Linked DNA regions of Homo sapiens: all the other regions are linked to region 1. The links are contacts of gene promoters, found by promoter capture Hi-C in human tissues and cell types (Jung and others, 2019). All regions are on one chromosome and are shown on one strand. The core of a region is centred on a gene start or on the middle of the fragment in contact, and the rest is flanking DNA. Distances in the headings are between cores, read along the strand shown. Region 1 holds the start of KRR1 (KRR1 small subunit processome component). Region 2 overlaps OSBPL8 (oxysterol binding protein like 8). Region 3 has its middle 25 kb from the start of NAP1L1.

The links. The method cuts DNA at HindIII sites, captures the fragments that hold promoters and counts their contacts. A contact is called where the count stands out against the background at its distance.
Region 2: a fragment that was not itself captured here is called in contact with the fragment with the promoter of KRR1 in region 1 in 1 of the 25 tissues and cell types used here (lymphoblastoid cells).
Region 3: a contact is called between a fragment that was not itself captured here and the fragment with the promoter of KRR1 in region 1, in 1 of the 25 tissues and cell types used here (small bowel).

Annotation. Positions count from the first base shown.
Region 1 is chr12:75,509,738-75,514,036 of GRCh38, reverse strand. KRR1 (KRR1 small subunit processome component) reads left to right here and starts at 2,428. Exons shown (of 10, transcript NM_007043.7): 1 at 2,428-2,524. The coding sequence starts at 2,440. RefSeq lists enhancers at 2,461-2,620, 2,127-2,670, 2,671-3,215. The HindIII fragment of the contact is 10,159 bases long and covers 1-4,299 here.
Region 2 is chr12:76,398,604-76,402,902 of GRCh38, reverse strand. OSBPL8 (oxysterol binding protein like 8) reads left to right here. Exons shown (of 24, transcript NM_020841.5): 6 at 137-214; 7 at 2,929-3,030. Among named protein-coding and RNA genes, the nearest start is that of BBS10, 52 kb to the right of the region's middle. The HindIII fragment of the contact is 6,988 bases long and covers 1-4,299 here.
Region 3 is chr12:76,107,773-76,112,071 of GRCh38, reverse strand. No RefSeq gene overlaps it. Among named protein-coding and RNA genes, the nearest start is that of NAP1L1, 25 kb to the right of the region's middle. The HindIII fragment of the contact is 6,893 bases long and covers 1-4,299 here.

The sequences.
Region 1 (4,299 bases), core at 1,179-3,678:
AGTCGAATTAATTTCGGAATTTGTTTATTCCATACCACGTTTATTTTAAAATTTTTCTTCAAAATTGCTTAAAACATAGTCTAAGCAAATTGTTGAAACGTTGTTCTCATTCAATTTGACTGTCAATTTTAATTTTTAGTAAGTATATATATATGTGCTATTCCTGCTTGTCAAGCCAAAATATGAAAATTCAGTTAATGAGTAACAATATTTAAGCATCAGAGTCTGTTTTAAAACTGAAAAAAAAATGTATGTGTACTAAGGAAAAGCTTCAGCCTCTCAGTCTCATGCAATTTTCTATTCATTTAATTTTTATACATTACTTCTTATAACTACTAGCATCAAATTAGTATCTTGCTATATTTTATCTCATATTATCACAGAGGAAAAAGTACTGTATAATTATATATACCCTTCAGTATATGATTAATAGTCATTATAATTAATATTTTTAAATTAATTTGTGATTTTTGTTGCAGGATTCATTTTTTAGTAAAAGCTTTTATATCCTATATGTAAGATAACTCCCTATTCCTGTGATATAACTTGTGTTAGATTATGGGTTCTGGAAGGCAAGTAACAGACTTAAAAAAATTCACTTAACTTCCAATCATATATTGTTTTTATATTGTATATTCAGTTGGTGGACAACATGAGGGCTTTTGAGTTAGGGAAGGGAAAGAATCACTTAATACTGAAATAACTTATTGTAGGAGCCTGATGAATCTTTTCCTTTGGAAAGCAGACAGTTTTAGTGTGGTGTCATCTATAATAGGAGGTCTTGAGGACGTTAGAGAATCTTAGAACTCAATTATTATCCATGTTTTTACACCCCTTTCAGTAATGATTTGGAAAAAGATGTAAAAATTTCAAAAAGGGACAGGTGAACTGTGGGCTCTGCATAGTATGGTAATTAAAAGGTTGGGTTTTACAAACAGACTCAATAGTGCCAAGAAAAGGATGGGTGGGTTTTCGTTTTCCCATCTCCATCATATTCTCAATATTCCTCAAATAATAGCAATACTAAGATTAAAAATATACACGTAAATGGGAAGAAAAGCCTATGTAGAAAATTTTGCTATAAAATAAAGGGCTTTAACACAAATATTATTTCTAGACTATTCCCTCCCCTTAATCCCTATCAGCCCTCTAACACATTTGAAGCTCCTAATGAATAGTAGCCCCCTGAAGCTGCTAGGTCAAACTGCCTGAACTTGAAGACGGGCCTTCCACTTATTAGTGATTGAGTTACTTAAAATAAGAATGATAAAAACCTGCTTCATGAGGTGTACTCCTCACTTTATAACTTTCACCTGCTGCTATCTGTTCTATTTTAGGAATTTATCATTTTTTGAGGAAATTAAAAGAACAGAGATAAAATCCCTGTCATTTATAAAACTCACAGGATAAAAACAAAAAACCCCTCTGTCGTGGGTTCTTCTGTCCATATGTAACAATCTGTTTCATACCTGGATCTCATATATGAAAACCTAAATTATTGTATAAGATACACGAGAGTGGATTTATCAGACAAACGTGTATTTCACTAATGCAAGGAATTTAACCTATCAAAGACTTTCCCTATTTGCTGCAGAAAATTTTAGAAATGCAAGCAATAAAATCAAAATTTAAAAAAATCTTATATTTGGCATGTCGAAGAACTCTTATACTTCCAAAAGTGTAGTTATTTGTAGTTAGTGATGAACCTCTCTACACATCTTAGCCCTATGTAATGTTGGGGGTAGAAAAGGAGTTTAGAGATTTTGAGAAATCTTAGGCTAGTTGAAATACTTCAGAAACGTCAGGATGTTGAATTACCATCCCTCTGACTTAGAGAAATACCAACACTCGGGAAGATTACCATCAGAAACAACTTTGAAAAGTTTAATTTTGTCACTGTTTTTAAAATTAGAAATAATGTAAATAAAGTACTGAAACAAAGTAGTCTCACAATAAATAGTAGCTATTCCTGTCACTTGTTGCAGTGGAGGCCCAATATACATTGTATTCTCATATTTGTACTTCCTCCCAACATCTAGCGCATATTTGGCCAACATATAAATATTTATCGAAAGAATGAATGACATCAATGACAGGTTGGTAGCACTCCGCTGTCCGATGGTCCAGGTTAGGCCGTGAGGCCACGAGGAAACTACGGATAAAACAGTATCCAATTTGCCTATACCGCCTGCTAAACTACAAGTCCCAGTACGCAAACTCCATGGTTTCAGGGCATACTGGGAGAAAGTCTCCGGCTCTTCATTGGCCACGTAGGAGAAGCTGTGGTTTGTGTAAAAGCGCGGGCTTAACGCACGTACGCACGGAGACTGCGCAGATCTCCTCGTCTGAGTTCCGCGGAACTCATTTTGAGTGTAGGCGTTTTAGCCGGTAGGGTTTAAGAACAGTTTCATTTCCGGAGCCACCGGAAGCAGCTTGCAAATGGCGTCTCCCTCGCTGGAGCGGCCAGAAAAAGGCGCTGGAAAAAGTGAATTTCGTAACCAGAAGCCGAAGCCGGAGAACCAAGGTGATGTTATGTGGGAACCGAAGCCTGGGGTTTGTGTACGTTGAGTTGCGATGTTTTTTTCTTTCGTTCCTCGTGGACTTATAAAACCACCTGGAGCCTGTACTGTGTAGTTGAGTACCTGAATAATCGCTGATAAGATTTTGGCTGGGCCCACAGGAACGGCTGGCCGATATGGTGCCACCCAGGTGTTCCTAATTCATTGCTTTTGCTAAAGGGTCCCCAAAGCGAAGCTGTTGCGGATTACGTCTTTTGTAAAAGGATGAGTATTAAGAAAATGCCTAGGGCGACGCAGAACCTTGTAAGCCTGCGGGTGGCTGAAAGTCACTGACGGAATGAGGAATAGGGTGAGGTGGGAATAGGTAGTCATGATATACAAGAGTGGACCCTGATAATGGGGTGAGGTATGGGGAAAGGAGCTATCCGACATGTCCTTAGCTCTAGTTTGTCAGTAAAGACATTTTGAAAGATTATCAATTCCTGTTTGTCAGATGCTAAAATATTAGACGACACAGCCCTTACTGTTTAGGTTGTGTTACCTTTTAATTGTTAACTCCTGCGTTGTAGTCTGGTTTTACCCGTTTTCTTCAGTGTGAATGATAGAGAAGTCATAAATAGCCTGGGGATCTGTTCAACCAGGCTTATAGGAAGTGTTAAAAACATTGAACTCTCAATTTAGATGCATTGGGAAAGTATTCAAAGTTTCTTTGTTGTTGCTCATTAAATGATTATGTAACGTACATAGCAGGGGATACAACTTATATAGAGTTTAATAAAACCATGCGGGAAACTAGCATTCAGACTAAGTAAAATAGAGCATTACCATACCCCTCAAACCCTTACGTGCACCTCTCAGATCATATTCTCTTTTCCTGTATCAGACGTAACCACCCTGAATTGTGTTGCATTCTGTTCCTCTTCTTGTAGTCATGAAGTGGCTTAATTTAGCCTGTTTTTTAATTTTATATACATGAAAGTGGACCGTATGCATTTTTCTGTGTCTTCTTAGATTTAGCTTTTTGTTTTTCAAACAGGGTGATACTTGCGGGTGTAGTTTTAGTCTTTTCACTGTTATGTGGTGTTTCCTTGTATGAATATACCCCAATTTATTTTTTCATTTTACTATCGGTGGACATTTGGATTGTTCCCAATTGCTTGCAATTATAAACAATACTGCTAAAACATCTTTGTACATGTCTTCTGGTTAACATGTTCAAGGGTTTCTCTAGGTTGTGAACATAGGATTGGAATCACTGAAGTGTAGGGTGTGTGTAAGTAATGCTAACTTTTTTCCAAAGTGCTAGTGTCAGTTTTGTTCCCACTAGGAGTGGACGAAAGTTGTCATTGCCTTACATTAGTATGAATACATGTTATCTGAATTTTGAATTTCTGTCATTTTGGTAGTTATGAAATGGTATTTGGTTGCAGTTTTAGTTTGCATTTTCTGATCACCTATGAGGTTGCATATCTTTTCACATGTTTTGAGGCTTCCTTAATTGTGAAACTCCTGAGTATTTCTTTTGTCAGTTTTTTTCCTGAGGTTGTAGTGGGGATTTTAAAAAAAATTATCCATAGCCTTTGAAGTGTTTAAATTGGATAGGGACTTCGTCAGGTAAACATTGTAAGTAACTAGTTGCAGTGACTCACACCTGTAATCCCAGCACTTTGGCAAGCTGAGGAGGGGGGATTGCTTGAGCCCAGGAGACCAGTCTGGTCAACATGGCAAAACCCTTTCGCTACAAAAAAAAAAAAAAAATTAGCCGGACATGATGGCACAT
Region 2 (4,299 bases), core at 945-3,444, 890 kb before region 1:
AATTCTATTGAAAATTGACATTTGCTTAAATCATAGCAATAAATGAGAAAAATGTCACATAATTTTAACATTAATTTTTATGCGACGTGTAGAAAATCTGAAGGATTTAATTTCTCTTGTTTCTGTATGATTTCAGTCTGAATCTAAACTTTATAATGGCTCAGAGAAGGACAGTTCAACTTCAAGCAAACTCACAAAAAAAGAATCTCTTAAGGTTAGTTTCCAGTTGTTTCTGAAAGGTAATTTACATTGTGCTTTGCATGTGTGTTTGGAAGTAGACTAATAGGATAAATATATATGTGTGTTCCTAAAGAAAGAAAAAACATCCAGTGGTACAGACAGGCAGGCACACATAGAAAATGTTAATATTTGTATGGTACACTGTGGTCAACTGATAAGATTGATTGATGACTGTCACAGAGCAGACTGCTTTAGGCCTCAAATGGCAACTGCAGAGGCTGAGGATGTGTTATCTCTGTACAGCTGTATCCAAACTAGGTATATTATCACTATGTTGTGGAACTCCTAATGGGAACTCTGGCACCCATTGAAATTAGAGATTGCTAACTCCTGGGTCATGGCCTGAACTTGACCTGCATAATGTTTTAAAATTTTGACCCAACAGTTAATTAAAAGTCCAGATTTCCAATTTCTCTGAGAAATATGTAGCACTGGGCTTACCTTCCTGAGTGGCCATAGAATCTGGAGCTTAAGAAACACATGCTTTCCAACTGGCTCTGGTTCCTAACTAGTCTATTTTACCATTTGTGTTCCATGCCTGGTCCTATATATATTTGTATTTGCATCCCATATTAAATCAGATAGGTTAATAAAGACCAAAATCTAAAGTTTTGAGGGTATAGAATTATTAAAATTGTATTATGTCTAGTCTGTTTATCATTAAATGCAACTTTTCTGGTGGAAGATTTTGTTAGTTTTTAAAAATGTAGTCACTAATAGGTTATCATCACTCTTTTCCCATCCAAATTATAACAACAAAGCAACAATAAGACCTCATTATTCACTGCTAATTCCTCAAATTATCAGAATTAACTTATGAAGGTGAAACTTTCATATTTTGGATAAATTAATTTTATAGTTATGGTTTCTTAATTATTTATAACTTACATATTAGTATTGGGAAAGAGAGCAAAACTTCCAATTGCAAACAGTTGTGGCATTCTTTGTTATTTGAAAAAATTGGTAACAGAGAAGGTTTCTATCAGTAAGAGAATATATTAATAAATATTATAGAAGCAGTATAGGCCAGTGGTTAAAAAAATAGCTTTGGGAGCTAGTTTGCCCCTGTTTGAATCCTGACCCTACAATTTACTAAATGTGTGATTCTGAGCAGGTTACTGTCTCTGCCTCAGTTTTCGTGTCTGTAAAATAAGGATAATAATACTTCTACTTCACAAGGTTGTTGTGAGGATTAAATGACGTAATGACAATACAAGTAAAGTGCTTAGAACTGTGGCTGGTTCACAGAATGCCCTCAGGGTTAGCTCTCTTATTATTTTAATTTGCAGTTGGAATCCTATGTAACATTTAAAATAATGAGAATGATACAGACATGAATACTCTTCAAAAAATGTTTATTGGGGGACCTTTTTGCATGCTGAACACAACATCTACATGTTTCTATAGGTTGTTACTTAGAAAAGGTCTGAAAAGACAGTGTTTTCCAGAAGGTTAACAGTCATCAATTCAGAGGATTGGAATAGGTTGGGGGTATAATAAAAATGGGTTCTAGCTTTATGTTTGAAATTTTTATTGTGAGGCTGTGTTTATGCATTGTGTAATTAAAAAGAGGTAAAATTGGCCAGGTGTGGTGGCTCACGCCTGTAATCCCAGCACTTTGAGAGGCGGGCGGATCACTTGAGGCCAGGAGTTCAAGACTATTCTGGCCAACATAGTGAAACCCCATCTCTACAAAAAATACAAAACTTAGCCAGGCATGGTGGCATATGCCTGTAATCCTAGCTGCTTGGGAGGCTGAGGCACAAGAATTGCGTTGACCCAGGAGGCGGAGGTTGTAGTGAGCTGAGATTCCGCCACTGCACTCCAGCCTGGGTTACAGAATGAGACTGTCTCAAAAAAAAAAAAAAAAGGTAAAATTATTTAAAAGATACATAGAACTGGACTAGTGATCAGAAAAACTAGATTCTAACCTTGGTTGTCTAAGACTAACTCCTGCTCAAAAAAAAAAAATACAGTATTTTTATTGTAAGATTCTGGAATTCTACAGCGGTTTAGACTTTTCTACTCCACCATTATAGTATGAAATTCTAAACCTCTTTAGAATACTAGATTAGGATAAAAGACAGTGTGGTGATTCCACAAAGACCTAAAGACAGAACTACCATTCGACCTAGCAATCCCATTACTGGGTATATAACCTAGGGAATGTAATCATTCTGTTATAAAGACACATGCATGTATATGTTCATTGCAGCACTGTTCACAATAGCAAAGACATGGAATCAACCTAAATGCCCATCAATGAGAGACTGGATAAAGAAAACGTGGTACACCATGGAATACTATGTGGCCATAATAAAGAATGACATCATGTCTTTTACAAAGATATGGATGGAGCTGGAGGGCATTATCCTTAGCAGACTAACTCAGAAACCAATACTGCATGTTCTCACTTAGAAGTGGAAGCAAAATGATGAGAACACATGGACACACAGAGGGACACAACACACACTGGAGCCTTTCAGAGGGTGAGGGTGGGAGGAGGGAGAGGATCAGGAAAAGTAACTAATGGGTACTAGGCTTAATACCTGAATGATAAAATATGTACAACAAAACCCCATGACACAGGTTTACCTATATAACAAACCTGCATTTGTACCCCTGAACTTAAAATAAATTGCTCATTTCTGTTGAGTTTTTATCTTTTCTATTATTTCTATAAAATAGGTACAAAAGAAAAATTACCGAGAAGAAAAGAAAAGAGCCACAAAGGAGCTGCTCAGTACAATCACAGATCCTTCTGTTATTGTTATGGCTGATTGGTTAAAGGTCAGTGTGTTTTGAATCATGAATTCAGATTGCTGGATGTTTACCTACTGGAATGGAAAAGCCTGGAGTATACCTAACGCCTACAAGACAAAAACAGCTCCTAAAATGATTGTTTTTCACTGGCAAAGAAACTATTATTGTATTCCCGGAGGTTCTGTGTTCCCATCTTAATGAAGAGAAGGAATCTTAATGTCTTTCTTAACAATAGCATCAATTACATACAGTATAGTTCTTTTAAAAAAGCTTTTTGGTTTGTGTGATATGTTGTCTAATACAATATGCTGTAAAAAATACATTGCTTGCTATTCCAATTATTGTTAAGTATTCCATATACTTGGTATATTATTGAAAGGATGAGACAAACTTAATATAAAAGCTATTTTAAAATAATCAGTTGGATACATAATATATTGTTAAAAAATGAAAATTGTTAATTATCAGACAAGCACACATTGCTGTTTCCAGACCCTATTCTTTTGGCCTCTGGTTATTTTTCTTTCCTTTTCTTTCATCCTGGTCACTCTATCCTCTTTCTCATTCTTATCTGAAAGACAGCTGTAGGAATCCTGAGTTTAAGAGTGATCTCGTAGGACTCTGACTCACAGAAAATTTTAGTACTTGGCATGTACCTGAGAATCACCCCAACCCACTTTTGCCAAGACTTACTAAGGCCTCTGACCTCATAATCCTTATGAAATCTGTCATAGGACTCCCCTCACTAAAATGAGAGTCTAGTGATAGTTTCCCTGACAATTCAGTTAACTAATTCTAGGGTTTTCGATCTTGTGCTAATAACACCTTCCAACTTGTTTTGACTCTACTTAGAAGTGCATTAGCTCAAGATCTCACTTAGGTTTTTCAGAGTTAAAGCTGCCCTCTGTTAAGTCCCCAACACGTTGCCTGGCCTGGCTGACTTTCTCTGCCTTACCTTCCTTCTGATAATTTGTCCTCCATGTTCTGTTGCATCTCCATGATCCAAAATGTTATTTCAGGGTACCTATCTCCCTTTCGCCTCTCTTGTCTTACCATTCTTTTACATATACATGTATCTTAGATTTTCTCTTTTCTTCATGCCTGGCTCCCAACTCCTTCTTTCTAAATGTTTCTTGTTGAGAGTTACTGTGATACGCCTATTTGGGGGATTAAGGAATCCTGTATTATTTCATACTTCATGTAGGTGCATTGAAATAACAGATGTTTTACAGTAAAAGTATAATTCTTATTTTTGATCTAAATATTAACATCCTTTCACTATTTTGAATTCACTGA
Region 3 (4,299 bases), core at 1,097-3,596, 600 kb before region 1:
GCGGATGGGTCACCTGAGGTCAGGAGTTCGAGACCAGCCTGGCCAACATGGTGAAACTTTGTCATCGTGAAAAATTAGCTGGGCGTGGTGCCACGTGCCTGTAATCTCAGCTACTTGGGAGGCTGAGGCAGGAGAACCACTAGAATCTGGGAGGTGGAGGCTGCAGTGAGCTGAGATCCCACCACTGTACTCCAGGCTGGGTGACAGAGTGAGACTCTGTCGCAAAAAAAAAAAAAAAAAAAAGCACTCACTGGTTAACCTTCCTAGGCATCTAATTCTCCTCCAGTTTAATCAATTAGTGATTATTAGATTATAAGACTTCCTGAATTTTTCTTAGAGGAGACTGATTTTACCTTTGTTTCTGACACTCAACTTTCACCACATTCTGATGATCTTGGCTCAGTGACCAATTACAAAGCCAAGAACATGTTCCATCTATGAGATTTCTCTTTCTCTCTCTCTCTCTTTCTTTTCTCCTCTCCTCTCCTCTCTTTCCCCCTTCTCCCTTCCTTCCTTCCTGTCTTTCTTTTTCTCTTTCGTTGTCTCTCTCTCTTTGTTTCTCTCTTTCTTCCCTCACTCCCTCCCTCCCTTCCTTCCTTCCCCTTCCTTTCCCTTCTTTCCCTTCCTTCCTTTCTTTTCTTTTGAGACAGGGTCTCACTGTGTTGCCCAGGCTGAGTGTAACAGCACAAACACAGCTCACTGCACACTCAACCTCCCAGGCTCAAGCAATCCTCCCACCTCAGCCTCCCAAGTAGCTGGGACTACAGGGACTACATGCTTATGCCACCACACTTGATTAACTCTTTTGTGTATTTTTTTTTTGTAGAGATGGGGTTTTGCCATGTTGCCCAGGCTGGTCTTGAGCTCCTGGCCTCAAGTGATCTGCCAGCTTTGGCCTCCCAAAGTGCTGGGATTACAGGCACAAGCCACCCTGCCCAGTGAGGTTTTTTTTTTTTTTTTTTTGAGATGGAGTCTCCATCTGTTGCCAAGGTTGGAGTGCAGTGGTGCGATCTCAGCTAACTGCAACCTCTGCCTCCCCAATTTAAGTGATTCTCCTGCCTCAGCCTCCTGAGTAGCTGGGATTATAGGCATGGGCCACTAATTTTTGTATTTTTAATAGAGACGGGGCTTTATCATGTTGGTCAGGCAGGTCTCGAACTCCTGACCTCATGATCCGCCCGCCTCGGCCCCCCAAAGTGCTGGGATTTCAGGCATGAACAACTGTGCCTGGCATGCCCAGTGAGATTTTTAATTGTCCCTGGCTCTCTAGGTGTTGGTCATTTGTACCTCACGTACCACACTCAACCTGTTCATTACCGTAAGTCTTCAGGACACCACCTGTTTTCTGCCTAGGTGGATCACAAAAAAGTGTTAGGGCCTTTTTATAGTTTGAAGTCAAGTCTTGTTGCTCAGATCATACTTTCCTATTCAACCCCTCTCTTCTCTGCTCCCTCAAAAGTAGTAACAATAAAACCTATAGGTACTTTTTCATTTTCCTCCACTGAAACATTGAGCTCATTCAGGTCTCCAGGTCTGCTCCCAGATTCAGCTCCAGGACCCCAGTGAGGCCTCTAAAAGTCCGTCTAATTCAGTTTTTATACAAGGGATATTTTTCTCCAGCCTGTCCAAGGTGAGGATGTCCAATTCTTTAACTTTCAATAGAAAATATTAAGTCAGATAAAATCACAAACTTTAACACAATTATCACTTGCAAGAGCTTACAAATCTTCCTTGTTCAATTCTGAAGAGCTAAATAAAAATGCCTTCAGTACATAAGGAGCACTCAACCTATAAATAGGATCCATTCCCAAGTATACATTGGTTGTTTAGAATGCTAAACATGTTTTTGTTTAAACAAAGATTTATTGAGAGCCTAATGTGTGCTAGTCACTTTTTCCATGAAAACAATAGAATGAGTATTATTTCGGTTCCAGGGCCAGCTCATTAAAGCCTTTTTACCTAACGTGGAATTAAACTATACCACAAATTGCGCAAGTCTTTTTTTTTTTTTTTTGAGGCAAGGTCTCGTTCTATTGCCCAGTCTGGAATGCAGTGGTGCTATCACAGTTAACTGCAGCATCAACCTCCAGGGCTCATGTGGTCCTCCTACCTCAGCCTCCAGAGTAGCTGGGAATACAGGTGTGAGCTTCTACCACACTACCACCAACCCCCATGACAACACTGCCCCCCACCCCCGGTGGCAAGTAATATCTTTGAGTCTTGGAAACAGCAGACCACGTGATAAGAGAGGAGGGAGAAGAAGGAGAAAGAATAGAACTTTCTCTCCCTGTTGTGGCAACTGACTAGCCCTAGGACCAATGATTAGTAAATACTTATTTGAGTCTAGGTGCTATTCTAAATGCTTTACATAAGTAGCTGTTTAAACATATTAAGCATATGTTTTGGTTTGTGTTGTCATTCATCTTCCTTCTGTACCCCTTCTCTACTCTTTGAGAGCCTCTCTCTATGGTGCAGGGTACAGCTGTGGACCTGGGCACTCCCTCTGCCTCTTGCACTGGCCAATTCTACCCACCAAAGTGTTCCATGCTCTCCATGTCCTATTCTCCAACCTCTACTCATCAAAATCCCCATTTTCTCAGTGTAGCTAATCTCAGGTGCTAGGAAGAAACTTTCCAGAGATTGATTGATTGATTGATTGATTGATTGATTTGGAGATGGAGTCTCACTCTGTCGCCCAGGCTGGAGTGCAATGGCGCAATCTCGGCTCACTACAACCTCCGCCTCCTGGGTTCAAGTAATTCTCTTGCCTCAGCCTCCAGAGTAGCTGGGATTGCAGGCACCCGCCACCATGCCTGGCTAATTTTTTTGTATTTTTTTTAGTAGAGACGGAGTTTCATCATGTTGGTCAGGCTGGTCTTGAGCTCCTGACCTCAGGTGATCCATCTGCCTTGGCCTTCCAAAGTGCTGGGATTACAGGTATGAGGCACTGTGCCCAGCCGAGATGCTTTTATTTTTAAAGAGGATACCTCAGAAATCAAATGCATTTCTTTTTTTTTTTTTTTTTTTTTTTTGAGACAGGGTCTCACTCTGCATAGTGCAGTGACACAATCACAGCTCACTATAGCCTTGAACTCCTAAGCTCAAGCAATACTCTCACCTCAGCCTCCCGAGTAGCTGGGGCTACAAGCATGTACCACCAGGTCCAGCTAAATTTTATTTTTAAAATTTTTTGTAGAGACACGATCTCGCTATGTTGCCCAGGTTGATATTGAACTCCTGACCTCAAGCAATCCTCCCACATCAGCCTCCCACAGTATTGGGATTATAGGCAAGAGCCACCGTGCCCAGCATCAAATGCATTTCTGGTGGCATTCAGGCAGATGGATCTGGCAGTGAAGGGCTGGCAAGGGGGTCCTGGTTACTGGGTAGAAGTGTTGGTCCTTCTTAAGAGTCAGTCCTGGCCAGGTGTGGTGATGTGCACCTGTAATTCCAGCTACTCAGGAGGCTGAGACGGGAGGATTGCTTGAGCCCGGGAGGTCCCGGCTGCAGTGAGCTATGATTGCACCACTGCATTCCAGCCTGGGTGACAGAGCAAGACCTTGTCTGTAAAAAAATCAGTCCTTGGAGGCCACACCTCAGAGCCATTTCTATTTTTATAGCCTCTTCCCTTCTCCACTTCTGAACATAAAGGAAGCACAGGGGGAAAGTACCAGCTAAGGTAAATTAGCACCCTCAGCTTCTCTTAAATTCTGTAGAACACAGCAAGGCAGGGGCAGTGAAGACAGTTGTGAAGGAGATGGAGTCGTCATTGTGACCAGTTTCCTATTCTTGTTGCTAATGTGCTAACAACTGTATCTGCTGACTACTGACTGACCCATATGAAAATTAATTCATATTTACCCAACTTCGGGGGACCTATCATAAAGAAAGTCTTTTTTTTTTTTTTTTTTTTTTTTGAGACAGGGTCTCACTGTGTCACCCAGGCTGGAGTACAATGGTGTGATGTCGGCTCACTGCAACCTCTGCCTCCTGGGTTCAAGTGACTCTCCTGCCTCAACCTCCTGAGTAGCTGGGACTATAGGCATGTGCCACCATGCCCAGCTAATTTTTGATTTTTAGTAGATATGGGGTTTCACCATGTTGGCTAGGCTGGTCTCAAACTCCTGGCCTCAAGTGATGCACCGGCCTCAGCCTCCCAAAGTGCTAGGATTACAGGCACGAGCCACCATGCCCAGCCGGAAAAGAAAGTCTTAAAATTAATTTCAACAAATCCTTAGCCCCTGATGGTATTTTTTTCTATCAGCTTTTAATGATGACAATGGACTAAAGCTTTCAAAG